2 separate regions of the Homo sapiens genome follow, and region 1 is linked to region 2. The links are contacts of gene promoters, found by promoter capture Hi-C in human tissues and cell types (Jung and others, 2019). All regions are on one chromosome and are shown on one strand. Each heading gives the region's core, a stretch centred on a gene start or on the middle of the fragment in contact. The rest is flanking DNA. Distances are from core to core; before and after follow the strand shown. Region 1 has its middle 79 kb from the start of RSPO2. Region 2 holds the start of RSPO2 (R-spondin 2).

What was found. The method cuts DNA at HindIII sites, captures the fragments that hold promoters and counts their contacts. A contact is called where the count stands out against the background at its distance.
Region 1: a fragment that was not itself captured here is called in contact with the fragment with the promoter of RSPO2 in region 2 in 2 of the 25 tissues and cell types used here (IMR-90 fibroblasts and pancreas).

The regions. Positions count from the first base shown.
Region 1 is chr8:108,159,945-108,164,970 of GRCh38, forward strand. No RefSeq gene overlaps it. Among named protein-coding and RNA genes, the nearest start is that of RSPO2, 79 kb to the left of the region's middle. The HindIII fragment of the contact is 6,641 bases long and covers 1-5,026 here.
Region 2 is chr8:108,080,318-108,086,075 of GRCh38, forward strand. RSPO2 (R-spondin 2) reads right to left here and starts at 3,303. Exons shown (of 6, transcript NM_178565.5): 1 at 2,880-3,303; 2 at 2,228-2,490. The coding sequence starts at 2,321. RefSeq lists silencers at 1,324-1,618, 2,159-2,334 and an enhancer at 1,496-2,442. The HindIII fragment of the contact is 6,606 bases long and covers 21-5,758 here.

The sequences.
Region 1 (5,026 bases), core at 1,340-3,839, 79 kb after region 2:
AAAGTATAATAAAAAATATATATATATAAAATTAAAGACCTAAATAAACAGTCCACCAATTAAAAAATAAAAAGAAAAAAGAATAAAAGCTTGCCCCAAAGTAAAGGTTGTAGGCAGTTCTGAGTATTATTGAAAAAGGTAATTGAAAGAGGAAAAAATATCCTCCTGTATCGCGATACAGAAAGAAACATCTTATTACTGTTTTTTTATTAAATACAGGTAATATCTGTTTAATTATGGATCATAAAGTACACACCAATATAGCCTGAAATCAATCACTATCAAATAAAGAGATGACAAGAGTTAAAATAAATCATTTTTCCAGATAAAGAAATATTATCAAAATATTGTTAAATCTTCCTCACACATGATTTTTTAAATTAGTCCTACTATTAATTACTACTAATTGCCATTGTTAATTATTTATGTTGTTTTGGCTTAGATGATAGTATTTATATAACAGAAAAGTAAATAATACAGAATTTAATACAATTTCAAGGATATGCCCATTTTAAATACTTTTATGTTGAAGTCATAACACACAAATTCTTTATTCTATATTATTTATGGCTGTGTCCCAGGTTGTATCTCTAAAAAATTGTTCACCCCATTTCTCTGCCAGCCCAATCCTGTTCCCTCACCCACCTAGTGTTCCCAAGAGCACTGCCCACTAAACCTCCTTCACACAACTCCCAGTCCACTACAGTCTGATTCCAGGAAACCTAATGACAATGACCAACACAGAAATAGTTTCCTCCTTCAATTAACTTACAGTCTAGCAGGAACAAAAAGCATCAAACATGTAATTACAAAAAAAGTGTGTAGAAAGGAAGGATGGGGATATACAGAAGACTAGAGAAAATACCAATGGGGTAGCCAATCTGGCCAGGGAAGGCTTCCCTGAGGAAGTCACAGCTAGTCAGTCCCCTGGAGGATAAAATGAAAACCACTTGCAAGCCCAGGTTTCTGGCATTGGAGTAAGTCAGGGGCTGCAAACCAGTTGACTACAGAGAAGATCAGGCTGTCGGCCTGCTTTGTGTGGTTCCTACAATGTTTTACAAAAACCTAGTTCCAAGGTAGTCTTTTTTTTAATCAAGATATTTTTACCTAATAGTTGGATTTCTGGCCTCTTTGGAAAAATAAGAAATTTAGCAAGACTGGATCAACATCCAGTGGATTACAACTGGATTACAACCATCAACAAGACATGAGTAGCTGCTGACCCGTTTTCTAGTTCACATCATCCACATCACTCTCAACTCTTGTCCTGCACTGAGACGCAGTGTTACAAGCCACATGTTTTCATGCATGCATGCTGTGACTTATAGTAGAAACACTTCCTATCAAAATGAGAAAACAAGAGGACTGGGTGGCCATTTTCATTCAACCCATTTTACTCATTGAGGTCACTTTAGGAATTTGACTTGGTAATGTCCATCATAGGTTCTCTCTGTCTCTCTCTCTCTCTCTCTCTCTCTCTCTATATATATATATATATATATATACATATATATATATATATATTTTTAGAGACAGGTCTCACTGTGTTGCCCAGGCTGGAGTGCAGTGGCGCTGTCACAGCTCACTGAAGCCTCAGCCTCCAAGGCTGAAGCGATCCTCTCACCTCAGCCTCCCAAGTAGGTGGGACCAGGTGTGAACCACCAAATCCGGGTAATTTTTTTTTTGTAGTGCCAGGGTCTCACTATATTGCCCAGGTTGGTCTCAAATTCCTGGGCTCAAGTAATCCTCCCACCTCAGCCTTCCAAAGTGCCCAGATTACAGGTGTCAGCCACCATGCCTGGCCAAAACAATGGTCTCTACATTTCAAAATTACAGGGCATTTTTGCAGAAGAGCTATAGTTCAGAACCCTTGTGGCATCTCTGTCTCCTAACCACCCCCCTCATAGTGTTTCTAAAGTCAAATACTTTTCTCAACATAATTGACCTGGCTGATCTTTTGTCAATGTAGAGGCCTCCAGTTGGAAGTGCCATTCTCTAAGCCTTATCCTATATTTCATTCAGCCCATGTACCTGAAAGCCATGGGGTGGTAAAACAATTCAATGAAGTGCAGGAAGAAAATGTTAGCACTTCTTTTTATGTTTATTTTTACCTGATAAAAAGAAATAAATTAAGATTTATAAACATTTAATATTTAGCTTGATGTGATTTCTTTACTCCTTCCATGTGCCAGGCTGATACAGATCTAGGTATCCTCACTAACTTCTTCAACTTCAGTACATTATGATATATTGCAGTTTACATTTGTCAAGTTGGTGAAATGATTGCACAAAGTTCAATAACAATTTAGTGGCAAAAATGGGACCATAATCAATGCCTCAGATGACTATAACCAAATACACTGTGTTGAGTCTTTCCAGTCTGGGGATCCACTACCACTTTCTTCCAGTTCTTTCAAGGGTTGTATCTCTTTTTCCCTTAGGAAGCTGTCATACCTTTGTTCTTCCCAGTAAACAGCCTCACCTTCCAGTCTTTCACTAGTTAAGAAAGACTTTCCCTAAATATAGCAATCCCTCTGGGATCTGGCCTTCCACCTCTCTGACCAGCTTGGATAAAGCTCCCTGTAAAGTCCTCTCCTTTCTTTTCTTAAGAAAGTAGCTATTACCTCTCATTTTTGCTTTTAGTTCAGACAGAACTGAGTTGGCCTCCTAGCTTCACTATGTGTTCTTGGTCAAGTTATTTAACCTCACAAAGCCTCCGCTTTCTTATCTAAAAACTAACAATTTTGAAAGATGGTTGAGGGGTTATGTAAAGTATCTAGCACTTTACATACTACAACAACAACAACAACAAAATAAGTATCACAACAAGGCAAGACTTATCTGCTATGGTATTCTGATGTTCCTTTTATTTAATCTTGGACATTTACCTTGTTCCCAGAATAATTATTAGAGAGAGAGAGAGACAGGTTTTAATTGAACCCAAATAACACAAAAATACTTTCAAATATCCAGCTTTTACATGGTTGGCCATTAAAACATAATAAAGAGCTCAGAATGAATCTTTTTATTGCTCATTAGATTGTAAAAGCATTCACATACAATATTAAACTTTTTGCTTCTAGTTCCCACCTGCTCAGCTTGCATCTTATTTCCTTGACAACAAGTTTAAAAGAAAGACAGCAATGAGAAATGGAATGTCTGGGGCAGATTTTTGGACACAGGAGATAAACTCCAAGTGTCTAAATTTGCACATATATCAGCCTGTGGTCTCGTTCTGATCTTCATAGTAAAAGTACATTCCTTTGTTTTATCCTCACTCAATCTCTTCTTCCATTTCCCCACTGAGGACTGATCAGACTCTACTTCAGCCATAGCCTCGATAGCGAAATGAATTCCATCGTCCTTTTCAGTGAGGTGTCATTTGTCAACTGAAATAAGGGCCTCAATTGTAAGGGGGAAGCCCTTAATATCGATAGACAACCTCCGGCTATCAACGCCTCACTCTTACCCTGCACCGGACACCCCCGCCCGGCTAGCTAGGTGTCAGAGGTAACATTCCTCTCGGAGGATTCAATACCCTCCGTGGTGACCCCTTGACTCTGTTTGATGACTTTCATTACTTATCTCTGGATTTTGAGGAAGGTGAGATTCTTAAGCTTAGTGGGGGTGATGGAGGGAGCAACCAATTGGATGCTGCTCAGCGCTAAAAAAGAAATGGATTGAGGATCACCTTATTTGTTTTAATGCCTGCTACTCCACAACATACTGTACCCTCTGGTTGGGTTTGCTGACTTTCTGGACCTCATTCACACTTACTTTTAAGTGATTTTTACTTGTTAAAATAACAGTTGTAAAGCAAATGCTCAAGTTCACACACAGGCAGACACACACACACACACACACACACACTATGAAATGATAGAACATTGTTAGTATCTTAGAAACTCATTCTTTGCCCTTCTCTTCCCTTCTCTTCCCCAGATGTAACCACTGTCCTAACTTTTGTGATAATCATTGTTAATAGTTTTATCATTTACATATGTTATTCCTTAACAATGTAGTTTAATTTTGCCTTAGAATTTTATAGAAATGGAATATCAGTTTTCTCTTGTGATTTGTGCATTTCACTCCATATTCTGTTTATGAGATTTTTCACATTGATATGTAGGTACAATTAGTTAATTTTCTCTGCTATATAGTGATACATTATATTACTTTACAATCTTGCAATTTTTTGTGTCTATCTTACTGCCGGTGAATACGTTTTTCTCCATATGCACTTTGCTCCACTTGTCCCAGTCTAGGAAACTTTCCCTTATTTCCCCCAAGTATTCAGTTCTCCCAAAGTATTGACTATTGTTCTTCCTGATTATTCCTGACTAGTTCACAGTCCATTTTCTGAATTACTAATGCATACATTGATTAATCAGTCAAATACTTTGAGTATTTAGTACTACAAATTTAGACTCAATACTACATAGTTTAATATTCAGTATAGCTCACAAATCTTTTCTTTTACCAACACTGTCAGTATAATAGTGCTCAATTAGTACTTGTTAATCTTTGGTTGAGAATAATAACAATAACAACAATGATAATAATAATAGTAGCAGTAATAGCTAACACTTATTGAGTACTTAGCTACATGCCAGGCACTATCTAGAGCTTTAGAAGTATTAATTTATTTAATCCTCACAAAGATATTATGAAATAGGTACTACTACACTTATTCTCAGTTTACAGATAAGAAAACTAAGGCCAGAGAAATTATATAATATGCTCAAAGTTATACAGCTAGTAAATGCTAAAATGGAAGGGATGATAGAAACTTAAATATGGTCAACTTCATTATTCCACAGTGATTTAGAAAGGTATAATTATAAATAATAACAGCCAATACTAACAAGTATTTCTTGTTCTGTATTCTCACTAGGCCAAATACTGAATTCAGTCTATTATGTGATCTTCTTAATTCTCACCACAATTTATTATGATGGGTGTTATTTTTCCAATTTAAAAGTGAGGAAAATGAGGATCATTGAGGTTGAGAAATTTTCCTAAATAG
Region 2 (5,758 bases), core at 2,053-4,552:
AAGGGATATCTGTTGAGAAGAAGAAAAAAAGTTTGATTTTTTTTTTACACCCTTACCAATTTACACGTTCTTGAAAGCATTTGAATTTTATTAAATCGAAAGGTTGATTTGGCATAAGTTACTATTGCACAATTTAGAGTTAGACTGTCAGTGCTTTGGGATGTGGATGGTAATCGTTACAAGAGATTTTGCTAAAAGTAAGCTTTGAAATAAATAGGTTCTGCTTCAGATACCTAAGAAGGCATAGGCAGATTCTTAGAGATGGCACTGCAGAGAAGGCATGCAGTATCCCTTCTGGCCGCAGGAGTGCTGTAATGTCCTTTTCCACCAAACAGCATCTCTGCATTAAGTTCTACTAAAACAATATGCTTGGTTCTTCCCCACTCAACCACAATGGGACAGGCAGGGTGGATCAGAAAGCCATCACTGAATTAGCAAGTCATCTAATAAGGATCTGGCAAAGGATTTTAGACATTTCTATATTTTGCAGACTTCAAGCACTTTAGTTTTTCTAAGTAGACTGCAGCTTTGACTTATAAAAAGAGGAAAAGCCTCTCCAAACACTTTTGACCATAATGTAATCAAAAATTGCTGGCTCTGCCGAATACTCGAAAGAAAGTACTGGGATTGAGAAAGGAATCAGGAGGGGAGGAGAGAGGAGATAAAAAGGGACTTTTTCAAGACAAGTATCAATATCAAACTCTCATGGCCTTTGGGAAGAAATTTCTCTCTAGTATTTTTAAGTAAAATAATTTCTGAAAATAAACAATTTCCAAAAGTCAGAAATCGGGGGAGAGGGAGGGAGAGAAGTTGGAGAAGGTTTATTCTTACAAGCCGCAGATACAGAGACAATTGAAGCGCAGGGACTACAGAAGTCGCACACCATCAGTTATTTGGAGCTCTGCGCTCAGGTGGGCCAATCTCTAGCTCTGCCCCTAGGTGAGAACAGCTTAACAATGTCCTAAAAAGCCATCAAAAAAATAAGGTTCGGAAAGTCCTCCTCAAAATCTGGATGCAGGAGCGGAGATTACACACAATGAGTTATAAACAAATCACATCACAGATCGAGTGAGATGTTTACATCTTGGAGAAAAAGTCAACATTCATGAACCCGGCGACAAATTCTAATTGCGCAAAAGTCCAAAGTGCCGAATGAAATAGACAGCTCTCACCAGGTCCCTGGGAAGGGGCTGCTGCGCGCCCTTCCTGCGCGGGTAATTCGATGTGCGTGTGGTGAGTGGTTTATGTTTAAATCCACCCAGAAAATTGAATCGTGTCTAGCCGCCCTTCTTCTAAAATGCAGTTGGATTAGTTGCATCTCCAGCGGACTCCGAGACAGAAATACGCACTAAATCTGCAGGAAAGCGAGTTCCCCGAAACCTTTCTGGAGGCTTCCACCCGCCTTCTCCGCTACGCACAAGTGATGGAGAGGGAGGGAGCAGTTAAAAAGCCGCAAGTGAATTTCATTGAGAACAGAAGCCTCCACCGGTGTGGCTGCTTTTGCAAAGCAAATGGAGAGAGCGAAGTGGGGCCTGTTTTAAAAACAAACCTCTGGAGGCGAGGACTCCCCAGAAAACCAGCGCGGGAATTGCTGCTTAATTCAGAAAGTTCCCATCTCGTCGCAGTTTCCAGAAAAAAGAGATCTATGTTGGCCTTTTTCTGGAAAGGGAGGTCCTCCCCCTCGACTTGGTACCCCTCCCAAGCTCCGGAATACAGACACACGCTTGGGTACACCCACACACCACACACACACTATGCTAGGTCAAGTCCGAAGAGATCTGAGGCCGGGTTTGGGGCGCACGTGGATGGGGAAGATAAAACAAATGAGCTACAGGGAAGATGGTTAGGAGGACAGAGAGAAGAACAACGACGACAAAAAAAAAATGCATGTCAGATAAGAAATACGTCCTAAAGAGACAAGTTTAGATGAGGAGGTGGGGCGGCGAACATGAGTGCGGACCGCACGACTTAGCCCTGAGCGCCCGATTGGCGCCCGGCTCGCCGAGCTCCCAGCGCGTCTCGCTCCGGCTCCCCGCGCCTCCAGGGTACAGAAAACAGAGTGTTTTGTAGAGCTCCAGGGTCCTAAAGGTGGGGACTGGGGACCCGCAAAAGCTGGGGTGGAGAGCACAGCCCTGACCATCTGAGCCCCCGGAGCCAGGGCGTGAGTGAGCGCCTCCACACGCCACCCCTGAAGCCCACCACGCACCTTTGGCAGAGAGGGACCCACCTCGCTTACTGCGTCTCCATCGGTTGCCTTGGCAGTGGCTGTAATCCATGCAGTTCAGAATGATGAGGGCAAAGGAGAAAAGGCGAAACTGCATCTGGGCGGTCGGGCGGGGGAGAGACGCCTCTCAAAGTCTAGGAACTGGAGGGTTCGCCCAAAGAGCCGGCGCCGGCCGCGCTGCTGGGGAGGACTCAGAGGGAGACTCGCCACTCACCCCCGGGCCGCACCGGTCAGTTCAGCGCGATCAGCATCTCTCCGCCACGAACCTGAGAGACAAGAAGCGAAAACAGGGTGTGTGGGGGATGGAGAGAGCCCCGGGGAGGCAGCTGCGCCTTCGCACGTCCCAATTTAAAGAAGAGAGGGAAGGAGGAAGCGAACCCACTGCCTAGCACGAGCCGCGGAGCGGCTTAATCCAGAGCGGGCAGCTGCGGACGAGTTGGAGAGGAAGGTGATTATAATCAGTGAATTAGCAACCTCTGCCGAGCCCTAAGCTCCGACCCAGCGGCATAATGCGTTGTGCCGGCGCTCCGGGGAAAGGAAAGAACTCTAAAGGCACTGAGAGCGCAGGGCTAAAAGAACGCTCTTAGGCCATTTGGAGTCCACGGCGGTGTACCCAAGCGCCGCAGCTGCGGCTGCCTTGGTGTGGGTTGCCTACCGTGCGCACGTCTCGGGCGGCGCGGCCTCCCTAGGCGCGGTGCTCCATCCCGGGCTCGGGAAGCGAGCCGCTTGGTTAGCACGTGGGCTGGGGAAAAGTTTGCCGAGACCGGCTGGGAGCGCCTGGCAGCTCTGGAATTCCAGCGGCCGCCGCGGGGTTGGCGACGCCAGGCAGGAGCGCGGAGCGGCGGGTGCAGCCACTGGGATGCTCCGTCCCCGCCCGCGAGCGCGGTCCCCAGGCAAGGGGTGCGCCCGCTCACACTCTCTGCCTCCCTAACCAATTGTGTCGCTTCCTGCGCTTTCTCCACGGTCACTTCACAGCTAAGATTTCTTTCTTTCCGAGCTGTAGAAGGCAGAACGCTCTCGGGAGGACGAAGTGATCCGAAGGGATGTGGCAAGCGCACTTTCCGATGGAGATGCAGACCGGCTGAGGCTTGGGATGCTTCTATAAGTAGGTGGTGCTGTGGTCCAAGGCATCTAAGTCTAGGCTGCCTCGGAGTTCCTGGGTCCTAAAGCCAGAAACGTCCCGGTTTCCCTGAGGTCCTAAAGAACGTTGACAGCCAACAGCGCGCCTAACTTGGAGCGAATCCTCTTCGGGCTTTCCAGAGTGCGGGGGATAGATAAAGAGTAGCTGGGGAGACGCCCCCTGACCTTGCTGGGTCCCAGAACCCGGCTGCTCACCCCCAAGGGGTCCTCTCCAGCCCTCTAGGGTCAGTTCCAACCTCAGCGCCAACCTTTCTGCAGGGAGATCTGACTGAAGGACTGATGACTCCCTTTAAACTTTTGCAATATGCCACAACTCTGCCACTTTTTAATTTACATCTTGTCTGTGTTTTGCAGGAAGGTATGTTAGCCGGCTGAAATTATTCATAAAACGCGCCCCCACTTTGAGGAGTGAAATGGGTATTCCCAACAGCTTTTGTTCATCCTCAGAACTGTTATTTACTTTGTTTCTTCTCCAATAAAACAAAAACCTGTGATCCGTTGCCTGAAGTGCTGAAGAAGTTGGGGCCTTGATTCTTTAAAAATAATTTTAAAAAGTTCACTTCCCACTAAAGTATTTTTCATTCTTAATCCTCCTCTCATTTCCAAAGTCTCCTGAATTAAACTTTTAGGTGCTTTGGGTTTGGGGAAAATATTCTGTTTAACAAAGTGTTACATTAAATAGACTTGATGCCATCCAATTTCATTCTGGTGAAATCTGTCCTGCATTCACTACTGTAGGAAAAAATGTATTTATTCCTTAAGCAAAAGATAAGAATTTATGCCACTAACCGTGGCAGTATGAATGTCTATAGATATGCCCGCAGTTACCATATTATTATGATAGCATTTTATACTATTTAAATTCCCTTTTCTATTCCTTCAGTTTCAGAAGATGTTCAGAAATTTGATGACTTAAAAGACAATCATATAAAAAGAATATTGCAATACTCATATTTATTAACTATTCCATTATTGCCTATTCATAACTATTTTACAGACTCACTATTACATAGTGGTATTTATGTGCTAAGAATTTCAGCAGTATGCCTTTGATGCATGCCTGAGAACACCCAAGTAAATCTGAGTTGAGGTCATTGGTCCCATTTCATAGATAAGAAAATCCATCACTGAGACTGGCCCACAGGGCACAAATAGAGTTCACAAAACACATTGCAGAAACAGTGGATCTGTTTCTTGACTTTTGAGCCTTTGATTTTTATCACAGAATTTGGAAACATTTCAGTGTAGGGAGTGGCCCCAGTGTTTGGCATAACTTGATATTTCTTGATCATCTTGATATGATGCTGAATATCTCTTCAGCACCATAAATACTACTTCTTTCCAAATATAGTCATATATGCACACAACAAATGAATTATACTTATAAAGGAGTTAAATCTATGGGAGAAAGGAAGTCTTCCCTAAGTAAGCCCCCCTGCCTCCTTGCAAAGCTTTGAGATCCATTCAAGATCAGTGGTCATCAGTGTCTTTTAAAATATTTAAAGGCAAAAGTAAACACAAGACCAAGCAGAGGTAGCGCTACCATTAATCACCTGCGTCACTTTGGGCAATTTTCTTGGTCTCAGTTTCCTTGGCAGTATTTTTAGGAAGTCTGTCCAAGGTCTCTTTCACTTCTACATGTTCTGGTTTACAATCAATTTTCTATTTGTACTAGGAAGTTTGCTATGGTATCTAACCAGTGTAAGGGCAAACTCATCAGTGATGGGTTCTTTGTGTAGAAAGAAGAGGGTTAGCCACTGCCTTCCTTAGTTAAATTTACAGACCACTTCACCCTTATCCCTTCAAAGACAACTTTCCATAATTTTAATTTTAATCTTTTGTGTTGTACAGTTGGTGCATTTTTAGCCAGAGATGCTTTTCAGTTTAGTGAACCCCCAGATTCAGTTCATGAGGAAGAATTTTGACAGTACCACTTCTGTAGAAAATTGGTTAATGTGTTTAGTAAGAAAAGAATAGGCTCTGGAAGAAAGGAAAATTCTTAATTCCTTCTTTTGCTCCCTCCTGGTCTATCTCTGCCTCTTAAAAGACACCAGTGAACCTTAAAACTCTGTCAGACTTAGTTCTTGGGGTACTTGGAGTCTCACACTTAATCACTTTGGGGCTAATTTGTTGATAATGCAGAATTTTTTTTTTTTACATTCACTGAATATTTTTCCTGACTTCAAAATCCCAGGAATGTTCTTGCTACTAAAAAATACAACCCTAATGGATCCTAGACTATCATTAACTTTAATCCCATATCTCTGCTTCCTTTCATTTCTAAACTCAGAATGTGGTGTTGTTGAGGCTCACAGCTCACAGTTTCTCCATCTTGGAGACTCAATGGACTTTTTCTTCAAACTGAGTTTATATAGTGGTTTCATTAAACTGGCT